2 separate regions of the Homo sapiens genome follow, and region 1 is linked to region 2. Evidence: promoter capture Hi-C in human tissues and cell types (Jung and others, 2019). All regions are on one chromosome and are shown on one strand. The core of a region is centred on a gene start or on the middle of the fragment in contact, and the rest is flanking DNA. Distances in the headings are between cores, read along the strand shown. Region 1 has its middle 51 kb from the start of GRIN3A. Region 2 holds the start of PPP3R2 (protein phosphatase 3 regulatory subunit B, beta).

Region 1 (6,391 bases), core at 387-2,886, 200 kb before region 2:
AGAATTGAAATTGCTCTCCCTGCCTCCCCACTCATGAGGCCATTTGTCTCTCTTTGGACCATTCAGAACAGACAGATTCAATCTACTTCTAAGAGGCAAACTTTCCAGGATTTCCTGGGCACATCTCTCTTGTATACCACTCCACTAAACTTCCGCATCTTTTATCCCTCCTTCCTATGAATGGCAGACCACACTTTCAAGGTCAAACTCTGATATCTGCTACATAACAAGCAGGACGGAGGGTTGCTTCATTCCTTGGTTTTAATATTCTAGTTTTCCTTTAAGCATCCTCTTTACACCTGGGGATTCCCCAGCTCTCTCCTTACTAAACCTCCCCCCAACAGGATTAGCTTCTATAAAGAGCACCACCCTTATCCCTGGCACCCAAAACTCTCACTCCTGATTTTGTATTCTCTTCCACCCACTCTTCTGCACCACTTAAAATCACCTCTCGTCTGTGACCCTCTGCTGCCCTCTTTTGACCATAATCCATGCGAGCTGCTGACAAGACCCGCAACCCCTCTGCTCCATGCATCTCCCTAGACCCTGAGCCAGGCAAACTTTCACCTTACTGTAAAACATGTCCCCTGAGCACAGTCACACAACAGTTCCTCAGATAGAAGGTGCATTCCCTGCAGGATATTCCAGCTCCACCCACATACTTCAAAAATATATATGTATATACGTGTGTGGGTATGTGTGTGTGTGGAAATATGTCAGTCACTGTGCTGGATTTTTGAAATATATCAGCGGATGAGAAAATTCATGTCCATTAAATAGTATGGCTTAGTGGAAGATATAGCTATATAAACTAGAAATAATATATCTTGACAAGTGCTGTGATGAGGAAATTTTATGATACTATAGAAGCACTTAAAAGGATTACGTAACTATGACTTAAGGGACAAGAAAAGCTTCAGACCTCAGATTGTGATCTGAAAATTGAGATGAAACGTGTTCCATGTAGTTCAAGGGTTGGCACATAGAACCCAACATTTATTTGCCACTCTGGAGAAAATTGCGTCCCTCATGTAGGTCACGCCCTCAAACCAGACCTTGGGCTGTTTATCTCACCTCTAGACCTACTCATCTATCAAAGACTAGGACTATTGGGCAAAGATAATGCCATAAGAAACACAAGAACTCTAGCCACATACAGGTTAGAGCCAAGACTGATTATCTAGCAACTTTACCAACAGATAAACCCACCTACTCCAAATCCCTGCTATCTTTAGACAGTACCCAAGGAAAACCTTCTGGTTTGCTATCATCTCCCATGTCAGCAACCACAATATTCTGTGCTGCTTTTGCTTAACACAGTCACCTATTGCTACCCTCTATCCCAAACTTTTCACTATGTCAAATCCTAAGTAAAAAAAATCCTCTGTATCCAGTCCTCTGTTTTCTTCACCCATTTCATGCCTTTAAGTTTGTTTCTCCTCTCAAAATACTGTTTTTTCTGCAGTCCTCTCAAAAAGTTTCTCATTTTCTCATGCTGCAAGCTCTTCATTATTACCACCGTGAAGAATGTGCCATCAAGTCATAGCACACTCTCTTCTCCTAGTCGCTATGAGTCAACATAATCTACTTCTCCTACTTCTTTAAAGACCTTGGCAATAACTATCCACCTCTCCACTCTGTTCTTGCCTGGGAAACTCAAGATCCATACAAATGATGGGAGCTCTAATGAGTTCATTGGTTATGAACATGAACTCTTCTGGTTTTCCTCCTACTCTCTGGCATCTCCATCTCAATCTCATTACAGGATTTTCTTCTCTATATGTCCCTGTATTAGCAAACCAAATGTTGACTTCTTTTCCTCTCACTCCACACCGTCTCCTTGGTAAATACTGTCTCAGTTAACTGTGGATTCAATTAACATCTATGTGCTAATAAATACCGAATCTTTATCTCATCCAAATATCTCTCATGGGCTCCAGAGATGAATACCTAACCGTCTAAATAGATACTTTTTGATGACTCACAGACATCTAAATTCAATGCGTCCACAGATGAATTCATCATCTTTTCCCCAAGTGAGTTATTTGCTTTGAGAGTGATACCTAAATGCTCAAGCCAGAAATACAGGTTTCTTCTCTTACTCCCTTCTCCAGTTTCTCCGCACACCCACCTCAAGGCAATTTCTATACTTCCTTCTCCATTTGCCCTTTTTCTAACTTGTCACCATTTTATTCCTCAAGTTCACTGTCCTGCACCTCCTCCTGCCACCCCTTCAATCCATTCTTCACACTGCATCCATCCTGACTGTCCAAATATGCATCTGCTTATATCATTACCCTGATTTTTAAAAACAATGAAATAAAATGCTTAGTGGAACCCTTCTACCCTCAGGATAAAGTTCACAGGCCCCAGCGTAGCATAACATACTCTTCTGATTTGGTTCCTCATTAACTCTCCAACCTCATCTCTCATCCTCTCAACACCAATATGCCCCATTCATGCCAAACCACTGTGTGACAGGATCCAATGACAACGACAAATTTCATGAAACACGTATAATTCTACTTGTATCTAAGGTTAAAGGACTTTCTTATTAAGTGTCTGGGGGTGAAGGATGGGGTTTTTAAGGAAACCTATGTCAATGAACCCCATTTGTGTGCATAAAGATAACCAGTTGCATGTAGGTTTGATTTCTGCAGAATATAGGTAATTCCCAAGGGGACCAGCAGAGAAGAAGGAAAAAAAATGTTAGCTTCACCAGGCTCCTTAAATTATGACAACACTTACACATGACTGGCCCAGAATTTAGGCTGCAGTGAAGCATTTCTAATGGCTCAATTCCAAGGCTAATAGAGCCAAGCAACTCTTTGAGGATCCTCTATGTCCTCTCATTTTTTAAAACCCCAGATGCTAGCATATAATCAATGCTTAACTCTATGTTGCAGATCCTTTGCAGGGATTGTGCTCATATAACCTACATTTTCCAGGACAATTGTGATTTCAAATATTCTCCTCTGTAAACCATGGAAATGTTTCATAAATTACAATTTTATGAAAATAATAATGGAGAAGATCAAGAAAGTTAAGTATTGTAGTAAAATTTTAGATGTGAAAAGATGAATAGCACAAAAGAACTGAGACATCAGAGGCCAAGGAAGCATTGTGATACATTGTGAAAACAAAGTATACTATCCCATGTCATATACATCTAGGTATGTAATGTTAAATGTGTGTAACATGTGGCACCCTCAGATAAAAATAAATCATGTTAAAGTGACATTCTGCAAGGAAGCCACTTTCCTGGTTGGCACAATGTGAGGATCAGAATTGAAATGAAGAGTCAGATAGGTATTGTCTTGTTTTATTGTTTGTTTGTTTGTTTGTTTGTTTTATGATTCTTGGAACTTCATGAAAAAATTAATGGAGAAAATTGAAAACCTCAGTGAATTACATGAAAAGAAAACAATATACATTTTACTGTGAAGTTATGTATAGTAATTTATTACAACTTTTACTATTTTGACCACTGCAAGATATTTTGATAGACTCTTGTGACCTCACTTGTTCACTCCTTTAATGAATATTGAGCATCTCCTGTGTGTTGGACACTGTCCTAGGTACTTGGAATGTGAACCTAATGAAACAACACAGGTCACTGTCTTCAAGAAGCTTATATTCTAGCAGTGGACAGATAATACCAATAGGTTTGTAAATTAGTAAATCACATCAGATGTTAAAAGATGATAAATTTTATGCAAAAAAAGTAGTGTAGGGCAGAGGAATTCAGAGTGCCATTAAGGGAAAAGTGTAAGGCTGTAGTATTAATAGAGTGATCAAGGTAAGCTTTATTTGGAAGATAAAATTTGAGCAATCACTTGAAAAAGGTGAAAGAATTAAACAGACAGCTGGGGAAGCATGTTCCAGGCAGAGGGGACAGCTGGAGCAAATGCTCTAGGATGAAAGGACTTTTCACAGTTGTGATTTCACATTTGTATTTTGATCATTGTATTAATCTGCCTCCTTCCTTAGACAGTATCTCCAAAAAAGGTAAGAACCATATCTGCTTTGTTCAATTTTCTCTTAGCATCTAGACCAAGAATGCTCAGAAAATATATATACTGAATGATTAAATAAATGAATATTAATTTGCACATTCATTTTTCTAATGAACTAGGAAAACTCTTCACCTGGTTTGACTAAGAGATTTTCTATTCTAGTCTATTCTAGATTTTGCTCATTCATTCACTTGTGGCTGATTCTAGTCTGTGTGTCCAGCTCCATTACTGACTCATACTAGCCTGTAATTGAATGATACTGCCTTCCATCAGCATACCTATTACTAATTGCAGAAAAACTATAGCTTCATTCTCTACCTGATAGAACTTCACCTTAAGTATGAGAGTGCTTATAAACCTTCCAATACCATCTAATAAATGTCTTCTACAGATTTTTTCCATGGGAGTTCATTTTGGTTCCTCCTAGCATGGCTGAGCAGATTCTGTTCTCTGTTTCTTTATTCTTTGGCTGACTGCCTATGTTCTGCAGAATCAGTATTCTGCTCTGCTGTGTGATGGACAGGGGGTTATCCCACTTCTTTTTGGCAGGAAGAGGGACTTCAAGTTTGGCTCTGAGCTGAAAATGAATAACACACTAGAAAAAATAAGGTCACCACTATTCCTCCTGTGTAACTCGCTATTAAATATTTTCTTTGCATGAATTAGCTCAGGAATTTTAGTATTTAACTATTTTGAGCCCAGTACCATAAAACATAAATGTACAATATGCCAGTTAAGCTCTGTGAATTCTACAGCACATAAAAAACTAAGCAACTGTCATTGGAAAAAAACACAAAATTACATTCCTGCAGTTCAAATTTTTATCAAGTATGTTTGAAAATATTTTATTATTGTATTGCAGAATACAAAAAGTAAGCAGAAATACGTAAGAGAAATCTTCTAATACAATATGTGAAAAGGTATACTTTTTCTAAATAATATGTCCATTTTTATCACATTTGACATAATACACAGAGTTATGATGGAAATAAAGTTTACAAAGCACCTACCATGTTCTAAGAATAAATAATATAATGCATGTAAAGTGTATCTGTTCATAATGAACCTATAATGTATATAAGGTATTATTATCACTGTGGATTCACCTTTACTCTGCATTCATCCATGGGCTAAGCGCAAAATAATACTGAAGTAAACTTTATACTTGAAGAATTTGATCTCACTTGACATATATAATCTAAGAAATACTAGTAAGCCCTGAAATTTGTAATATACAGAGGCTCAATGAGGGTTTGTATATACACACACTATCTAAAAGATGGTTTTGGTCTAATGGAGTTTATACCACAAAAAGAAATAATTCTGCATTGTAACATTTACATTTCTCAGCTTTGCATGTTGAGAAACAGCATATTTATCAGAGGTAGCCTCCTTGAGTTTGAATCTCATTTCTGCTACCTACTAGTCAAATGTCTATGAGAAAGTTATTTAATCTCTCTGAGCCTAAGTTTATTTCATCAGCTAAAAATATTGCCTACCTGTATTAGTCAATTTAATATATCAACTTGACTATGCTATGGTTCCCACTTGTTTGGTCAAACACCAGCCTAGATGCTTCTGTAAGGTAGTTTTAAGATGTGATTAGCATTTAAATCAGTAGACTTTGAATAAGGCAGCTTTTCATAATATAGGTGGGCCTCATCCAGTCAATTGAAAACCTTAAGAGAAAAGACAGATATCTCAAGGAAGGAATCTTCTGGCTTCTGACAGTCTTTAGACTCAGGACTGAAAATCAGATCTTCTCTGGTCTCCAGTTGCTGACCTGACCTGACCTGCAGATTTCAGAATTGCAAGCGTCCACAATCATGGGAACCAAGTCCTTAAATTTCTCTCTCTCTCTCTCTGTCCACACACACACACACACACACACACACACACACACACACACACACACTCTGTCTCATTCTGTTTCACTGGAGAACCTGGAGAACCCTACCTTCCTGCTTATTGGAGTGCTGTGAAAATCTGCTCTGAAATCTCAGCTTTCCTGTGATTATTGTTAGTCTATTTCTAATTTTCTATCCTTTTACTTTTATACTATTTCTGTCTTTATATTTAAAGTATGTTTTATTTTGGCAATATATTCTTAGGTCTTGCTTTTTCAAATCTAACAATTTCTGCTCTTAATTGGGGTGTTTAAAATATTATTTTGTCCAGCTCCATATTTCCATATGGTTCATTTTCCTTCTATTTGAAGAATTTTATTTCATATTCTTGGAACACAGTGGTCTTTATTTTTACCATTTTTTTATTTTAAGTTCCAGAGTACATGTGCAGGATGTGCAGGTTTGTTACATAGGTAAACATGTGCCATGGTGGTTTGCTGCACCTATCAACCCATCACCTAAATATTA
Region 2 (7,087 bases), core at 2,724-5,223:
ATTACTCAGGAGAATGTAAGTGAGGAATCCATAAGAGTGCCTGATGGGCCAGTGATGTTGGTTACTGCATTTCTCAAGTCTGCAATGGAAGGTCTGTAATCAGTCCTCAAAGAGTTTTGAACTGGAGGAGCCAATTTTTATGCTGGTATAGCGTGTGAGCAGCCTGTGGCATACTGTAACCACTACATGAGGAGTGTTGTTAAATGGCTATATGTACACTTAGGTGTCCAGGGCAGGCTGGTATCCTTTAAGACTTCATCTCTACTAGTAGGGTAAGTAACAATAAAATTAGTAATAATAGCAATGATGATAATGACATTATATTGACTAACATTAGCTTTAATACTCACAAAAATGTACAAAATATATATTATTAGCCCCATTTTTCATATGGGAAAACTAATGTCAAGCAACTTGTCCAAGGTCTTACTGCTACTAAGTGGACTGTTAAGATTTGATGTTGGGTTGTCCCATTTTAAATCCTTTCTACCTTATAATATAATACCTAATTAATAATACCTCTTTTTAACCTAATTAATTCAATTGGGATAATAATTCAACCATCAAATATTTTAGCCTCCATATCTTTCCTTTTCCATTAAACTGTCTAGCTCTGTGCTGTCCACTATGATGGCCACATGTAGTTACTGAGCACTGGGAATGTTATGAGCTCTAATTGACATGTGCTGTAAATATAAAATACAGTACAAAAAGTGTAAAACAACTCATTCATAAATGATAATATTGGTTACATGTTGAAACGGTAACACTTTGGATATATTGGGTTAATATAAATATATTATTAAAATTCACTTCTTTGCTTTTTAATGTTACTAAAAATTTAAAAGTACATATATAATTAGACAGCACTGCTATAGATTATTATTCCAAGATTCATCTACTTTATCCCCACATACTGATCTCACAGAGAACCAACCAGTATGAAAATGTTTTTGCTGTTGAATTATTCTCATGGCTCATGAGCCTATAACATAAGATATCAAAACACTATGTTCTATAGTATATGTCAGACTGTCTTTATTTTTTACCATAATCCAAGCAAGAAAATATGTCATATTGCAAACCCAGAATGACCTGGTATTCCTTTATCATATATATACTATATTTAGTTTTACAACTTTATGAAGTAAACTTTTTACAACTTTATAAACAACTTTATGAAGTAATAGTACTTCCCCTTACAGATGATACTTTCTCTTCAATTATCTGCTGTTCTATTTTTTTGATGTTGTTTGTAACTCACTAAACCAACTTCATCACTCACTAATGTGTTGTAACCCACAGTTTGTAAACACAAGAGTGTCTGCAAGTGAGATACCAATTCTATCTACACAGAGGTGAAGGGATATTTTAGCAAATAATAAGATGGACCTGGCACTAATGAATGAGCTAGTGGAGGCCTGTAACTATAGCAGGATCTGTGGCCTATTCAGTTGGCAAAACTGAAGGGAGTTCAAAATGCTTCCTCTCTCCTATAGAGTCAGCACTAATGGACCTGTCTAATGTCCATCTGTTGTTCTGTCTGCTCAGCATTACCCTGTTCTTATAAGGAAGAGCATGTGCTTCTTTTGGTACCTGCTCTTCCTACCCAGCCCCCACTTCCCCCCGACCAGCTCCATCCATGAGGTTCAAATGGAAGCTCCCATATGTTATAAGCCATGTCTGATGGCTCATAGGTGGGAACCCAACCCAAGTGAGACCAATCAGAGCCTGTTCATGGGATTTATGGGCATCTAACTAGAACAGGGAAAAGTCCGTCTTTTCTGATGATAAAATCCCCAAAGTCTTAACTTGGAATCTGTCAGTGGTTGTGTCCTCTGCAATGTGGAAGAATTGCTTTACCATAGGAGAGAGTGAAGGAAAGAGAAGCAGAGGTGAAAGGCACAGAGAGGTCAATGGGCCCAACTCCTTGCAGGGCCAGCTTCATGGGCATGTGGCCCACGCAGTCTCATAAGGTCCCGTACTTGGTTTAATGTTCTGCTGTGGCCATCTTGAAGCTCTCAATCATTTTCAAACAAAGGACACTGCAAATTACATAACTGGTCCTGAGGCGTTGGTTCCAATATTTCCTTAAACCCAGTGGGATCCTCACCCTTCCTAAGACTGAATCATTCAGCTCTTCTTTAGATTATGTGAGATTCTTCCAACAAATTATCTTTCATGTTAAGCTTCTTAGAGGTAGATTCTTTTACTTGCAGCCAAGAAACTGGACTACACTGTGGTCAAAGACACAAGATGAGAGAAATAACACAATTCTAGAGGCTCCCAGCCCCAGTGCATGCCCAAAAGATAGAGTTCTGTCCTTGCCCCTGAGGTTTCTGATTTTTTCAGAACTGCACCTGCAGGGCCTGGATATTTCCCCCAGAGAGTCCAGAAAGGTCTTTGTGCTTTAGAAAGAACACAGGCTATAGTGGTTGGTATCATTTAGAGACCAACACTGATTTTAGGCATCTTGTAATATAATTTAAGGTGGTATCCTTAATATTGCAAATTCAATAGGCTTATATGCAAACTGTACCATGCTCATTTCTCTGAATAACTGAAAAGCAAGCAAATAAATGAAACAAAAAAACATTCCAATATAACAGTCTAATTGGGAAAGGGGGTTTCATTTGTGTAATGCCCATAATCAGCTTTAAAACATATCCATGGATTATCATTTGTTTATAGAGGAAAGTAAAATGGCCAGACTTAATGATAAGGTGATCAGTGGCTTAGTTTTGCTAGTTCCAGCATGGTTATCTTTAGACTGATATTTTGGCTGAACTATAGAACACAGAACTTGCCAACATTTTTTAAAGCGAAGGAGTGTTTGCATCTTTCAGTTTGATGTAGTGGCCTGAGGTTCCCCCAAGTCCCTTTGAACTGTTTGCTCTTGAACCACATTTGTTTCTTATGCATTTGGAGTAATTGATGCGCTCCGAAAGGAAGAAGGAATAAGAGGGAGCATGTGAGATTAGTCTTCAACAGAAAGAACAAATCTAGTTGAAACAAAAGGAGAAAAGTGAGATCATCCAGAGGCGACTGTCACTCTCAACACACACAAAAGGCTTCTTTGGGCACATTGCAGACCTTCCCCCAAGGTATTCTGCAGAATAGCCGCCAGGCACCAACAACAAAGATGTGACTCGGGCATGAGATGATGGATAAGAGGGAACAGAGTAACAGAGGTTGTGTTCTTGAGACCTGTGTCATCTTGAAAAACGCCCTGAATTCAGCATTGTTTATATTCCTCGGGAATATGTTAGTGCCTGTAGGTGATCCATGTAAGAAATTCTGCGCGGTATCTGCCTGGTCTCTTACAAACACTCTGAATCCTACGTCCTGAAAAAGGTACAGAAGGATGTCAATCCCGGCTTCCCCTCCCAGGGAATCGTGGAAAACATACTATATCAATGCCTTGATGTGTCACCTTGTTTCATCCTTACACTAGGTCTGTAAAGCAAGTATACAGTGTCCTTGGTTGCAGTTCAGTCATTCGGCGTATATTTATTAAGCACATATTGCCTGTGAAGCACTGTGCTTCTGGGATACTGCAGCGAATAACACAGGTGCGATCCCTTCTCCTTTGGGGTTTACTTTCTCAGAGAAAAAAAAAAAAGAAATAAGTAGATAAAATAATTGCCAGGGAAATTGGGGTTATCATGGAAAGGTACAAGGAGTTTGAGAGAAGGAAAAAGAGAAGGGGCAGCCCAGCTTTCCACCTCTGCCTCTCCCGGGCACCCCCAGGCTCCATTCTCTCCTCCCTATACTCCTGCCCAGACAGCACCCACCTCCCCTTCCGCCCCCTTTTCCCTCCTTCTTTCCCTCCTCTCTCCGCTCCCTCTCTGACCTGCCGCCCCTCCCTCCGCTCCCCTGCCCTTTTGCTCGACCAGGGCCCCCGGGAGCCCTCTACCCCCACCCCATGGCCCAACCGTCCGGGCACGAGCCCCGCCCGAGCTCACCGCCCCTGCTCCCCTCTCCGACCCTTTGAGCCGTGGCCGTTGCCAGATGTCCACAATGGGAAACGAGGCCAGTTACCCGGCGGAGATGTGCTCCCACTTTGACAATGATGAAATTAAAAGGCTGGGCAGGAGGTTTAAGAAGTTGGACTTGGACAAATCAGGGTCTCTGAGCGTGGAGGAGTTCATGTCCCTGCCGGAGCTGCGCCACAACCCGTTGGTGCGGCGAGTGATCGACGTCTTCGACACCGACGGTGATGGAGAAGTGGACTTCAAGGAATTCATCCTGGGGACCTCCCAGTTCAGCGTCAAGGGCGACGAGGAGCAGAAGTTGAGGTTTGCGTTCAGCATTTACGACATGGATAAAGATGGCTACATTTCCAACGGGGAGCTCTTCCAGGTGCTGAAGATGATGGTGGGCAACAACCTGACGGACTGGCAGCTCCAGCAGCTGGTCGACAAAACCATCATCATCCTGGACAAGGATGGCGATGGGAAGATATCCTTTGAGGAATTCAGTGCTGTGGTCAGAGACCTGGAGATCCACAAGAAGCTGGTCCTCATCGTATGAGCCTTTTTCTTACAAGCACCACCCAACAACTTCTGCTTTCTTCCCTATCTCTTTCAAGATTTGCTCAAGACGTCCAACTGTCTCTCTGACTTATCTGGAAGTATTTCTTTTTGTGAAGCCATATGTCCTAACAGGAGCTTCATCACCAACTCAGTGCTATTAATTCTCCTTCTCTGAATGACTCAGGGTACCCTATAGGGGGAAGAGCAAGTCAAATGAGCATAGTGGGGAAAGAAAAGGAAATGGCTTTTATAAACATCTTTTACTTTGTTTTGATTCAAAGACCAAACTAGAACTTTAAAAGTTCAAAAATAAGAAAGTATACATTTTTGCTGTTATTTCTCATCATTTTGTATATGGGAGGAAATTTATAATTTGCATGGGTGTTAGGTGAACTGTTTTCATTTGCTTGTGTTCAGATATCTTGCCAGATTGTTAACTTCCTATTGTAGCAACAGGGACAAATATATTTGTCTTTGCTGGGCATCTCGTAATCACTTTTCTTAGGGGACAGAATCCCATCTTTTCCTTCGGCAGATTGCAGCCCCATTCCCCACAATGCATCCAGAAATCGCTGTGCATGTTTGAGGGGTAGGAGTTCATTTGGCCTCCTCCTGACTTGTTGCTCCAGCTCCTGAACAGAAACTAGCTTCAGGGCTCTTATAGGAAATGCTAAGCCTGGACTAAGTGCCCAGCTCAGCCATCATCCTCATTAGCAGTGGGTTTCCAGGGTTGGCAGCCCACACCAGCATTAATTTCAATGAAGGGGACCTCCAGCTAAATAGGGCAAGCAAAGTGTTCTCCCAGAAAGTGCTCTCACCTCCGACACTGGTCCCTACCCCCAGGTGGAGACAATGAGACATTTAGTTAGTTGTCCTACGGAGGAGAGGCAGTAGAGTCAGGCTGCAGTGGAATCTCCCTAGGATGCCAAAGTGGCATTATGTCTGTTGCTCACAGATGCAGAGACTGACAATTGTGTCTCCACAGCAGAGGTGGATGCTAGCTACACCAGCTATGCTGATTTTGAAAATCAGATCTGAGGCCTAGAAGAGAAACTGAGAGCTCTCTCATTCCAGGAAGCCTTTTCCCTAGTGGAACATTCAGTGCAGAAGTCCTCACACACTAACAGATCTCCACCATTGGGTGAGCCGGAGCCTGTGGTTCCAGGGGAGATCCAGAATGCATGTGTCTCTTCCCACGCATTTATGTCATGTTGGTAGCTTTAGATCAGCCATGGTGAGAAAAGAACAAAAGCTTTTAGTTGTTTTTGTTTTGTTTTGGAGAATTTGTTTACCAGTAAATACATCACTGCCTGTACCCCAAATGTTACCAGCTCCCTGAGGTGTCCCACATACTATTGTGAGTTCTCAGAGCATGAACTGTCCTCAGAAGAGCAGGGCTAGGACTTGTCCCAGCATCTGTGCCTCCATACCAATCCTCTTTCTCACAGAGAACCACTTCCCATATAAGATGCTTAAGGCTCTCAAAACAGCAGAACAATGAAACATACTCTCCCTACACTTGCTTAGCCAAGAGATACCACTCAGGTAACTTTTTTCAGGACATGGAAGATCTGTTTCAAGGAGATTTACTGCTATTTTATTTGGAAGAAGCTGGCAACTGGTCTTGACCAAAATAGAAAAAAAAAAAAAAAGTCCACAAATTTAATCACTTGTAGGGAACCCATCTATCAAGGTACCCTACCATATACTTTTGTATTTAATAGATTACTTAGAAACCACAAAAATAGGAATCCTTACCCCTTCAATTCCTGTTCAACCCTAAAAACTGTGATAAACGCTCCCAACCCTGTGGTGATCAGGGTTATGTAATGTTCAAAGATTCAGACACACCTGGGTTTGGATTCAGTTGCAACTGGGTTGTTATCACACTCACTTCTTTTTAGCTGTGTGAGCATGAATAATTTACTTAGCCTCTCTGTGTCTTTCCACCTAATTAAAGAGGATCCACCCCAGGGTTATTTTGAGGATTCAAAAAGGCATGCAACACACCTGGAGCACAATTCCACTTTCATTCAACTAATTCCCTTCCCTTCCCCCTTCTTCCCCTTCTACAAGATCAATATGTAAAGGAGACATGAGGCTTACTGGTTGCTTTTGAACACTTACTTAGTTCTTAGCTACACCCACTCTAAAATTAACTGGACATTAGTGTACAGCCCATGTCCAAGCCCAGAGAGAAAACAATGGGAACAATTTCAAGGTCCTCACCACTCCTTCATTTGCAGAGGGGACAACAGACTTTCTGACCTGAGAACTGGAGAATTTTTAAAACAAAATCTCTCATTCCAGCCCAACCTATTTAACTTTTTGTGGAGGAATTTTACATGGAGGAAGTGAGCACATGTCATGCTAGCCAAGAGGACATTATTGTCATTAAAGAGAGGCATTATTTATACACCCTGCAATGTGCACATTAAAATATGGAAATTTTAAAATTATGACCAAGGGCTTGAAACATATTGGATTACATGCTCACATTTAACAAAGAGAGGAAATGTGTTTCAGTTTCTGGAGTGGCTGGAATTTACAAG

The links. The method cuts DNA at HindIII sites, captures the fragments that hold promoters and counts their contacts. A contact is called where the count stands out against the background at its distance.
Region 1: a contact is called between a fragment that was not itself captured here and the fragment with the promoter of PPP3R2 in region 2, in 1 of the 25 tissues and cell types used here (thymus).

The regions. Positions count from the first base shown.
Region 1 is chr9:101,786,220-101,792,610 of GRCh38, reverse strand. No RefSeq gene overlaps it. Among named protein-coding and RNA genes, the nearest start is that of GRIN3A, 51 kb to the right of the region's middle. The HindIII fragment of the contact is 4,162 bases long and covers 1-3,717 here.
Region 2 is chr9:101,591,855-101,598,941 of GRCh38, reverse strand. It overlaps PPP3R2 (protein phosphatase 3 regulatory subunit B, beta), which reads left to right and starts at 3,973. Exons shown (of 1, transcript NM_147180.4): 1 at 3,973-7,087. The coding sequence starts at 4,021. The coding sequence ends at 4,533. All of the region lies in intron 6 of GRIN3A (glutamate ionotropic receptor NMDA type subunit 3A), which reads left to right. It overlaps LOC105376186 (a long non-coding RNA gene), which reads right to left and starts at 3,968. Exons shown (of 3, transcript XR_001746863.2): 1 at 3,854-3,968; 2 at 3,434-3,599; 3 at 3,127-3,345. The HindIII fragment of the contact is 7,456 bases long and covers 100-7,087 here.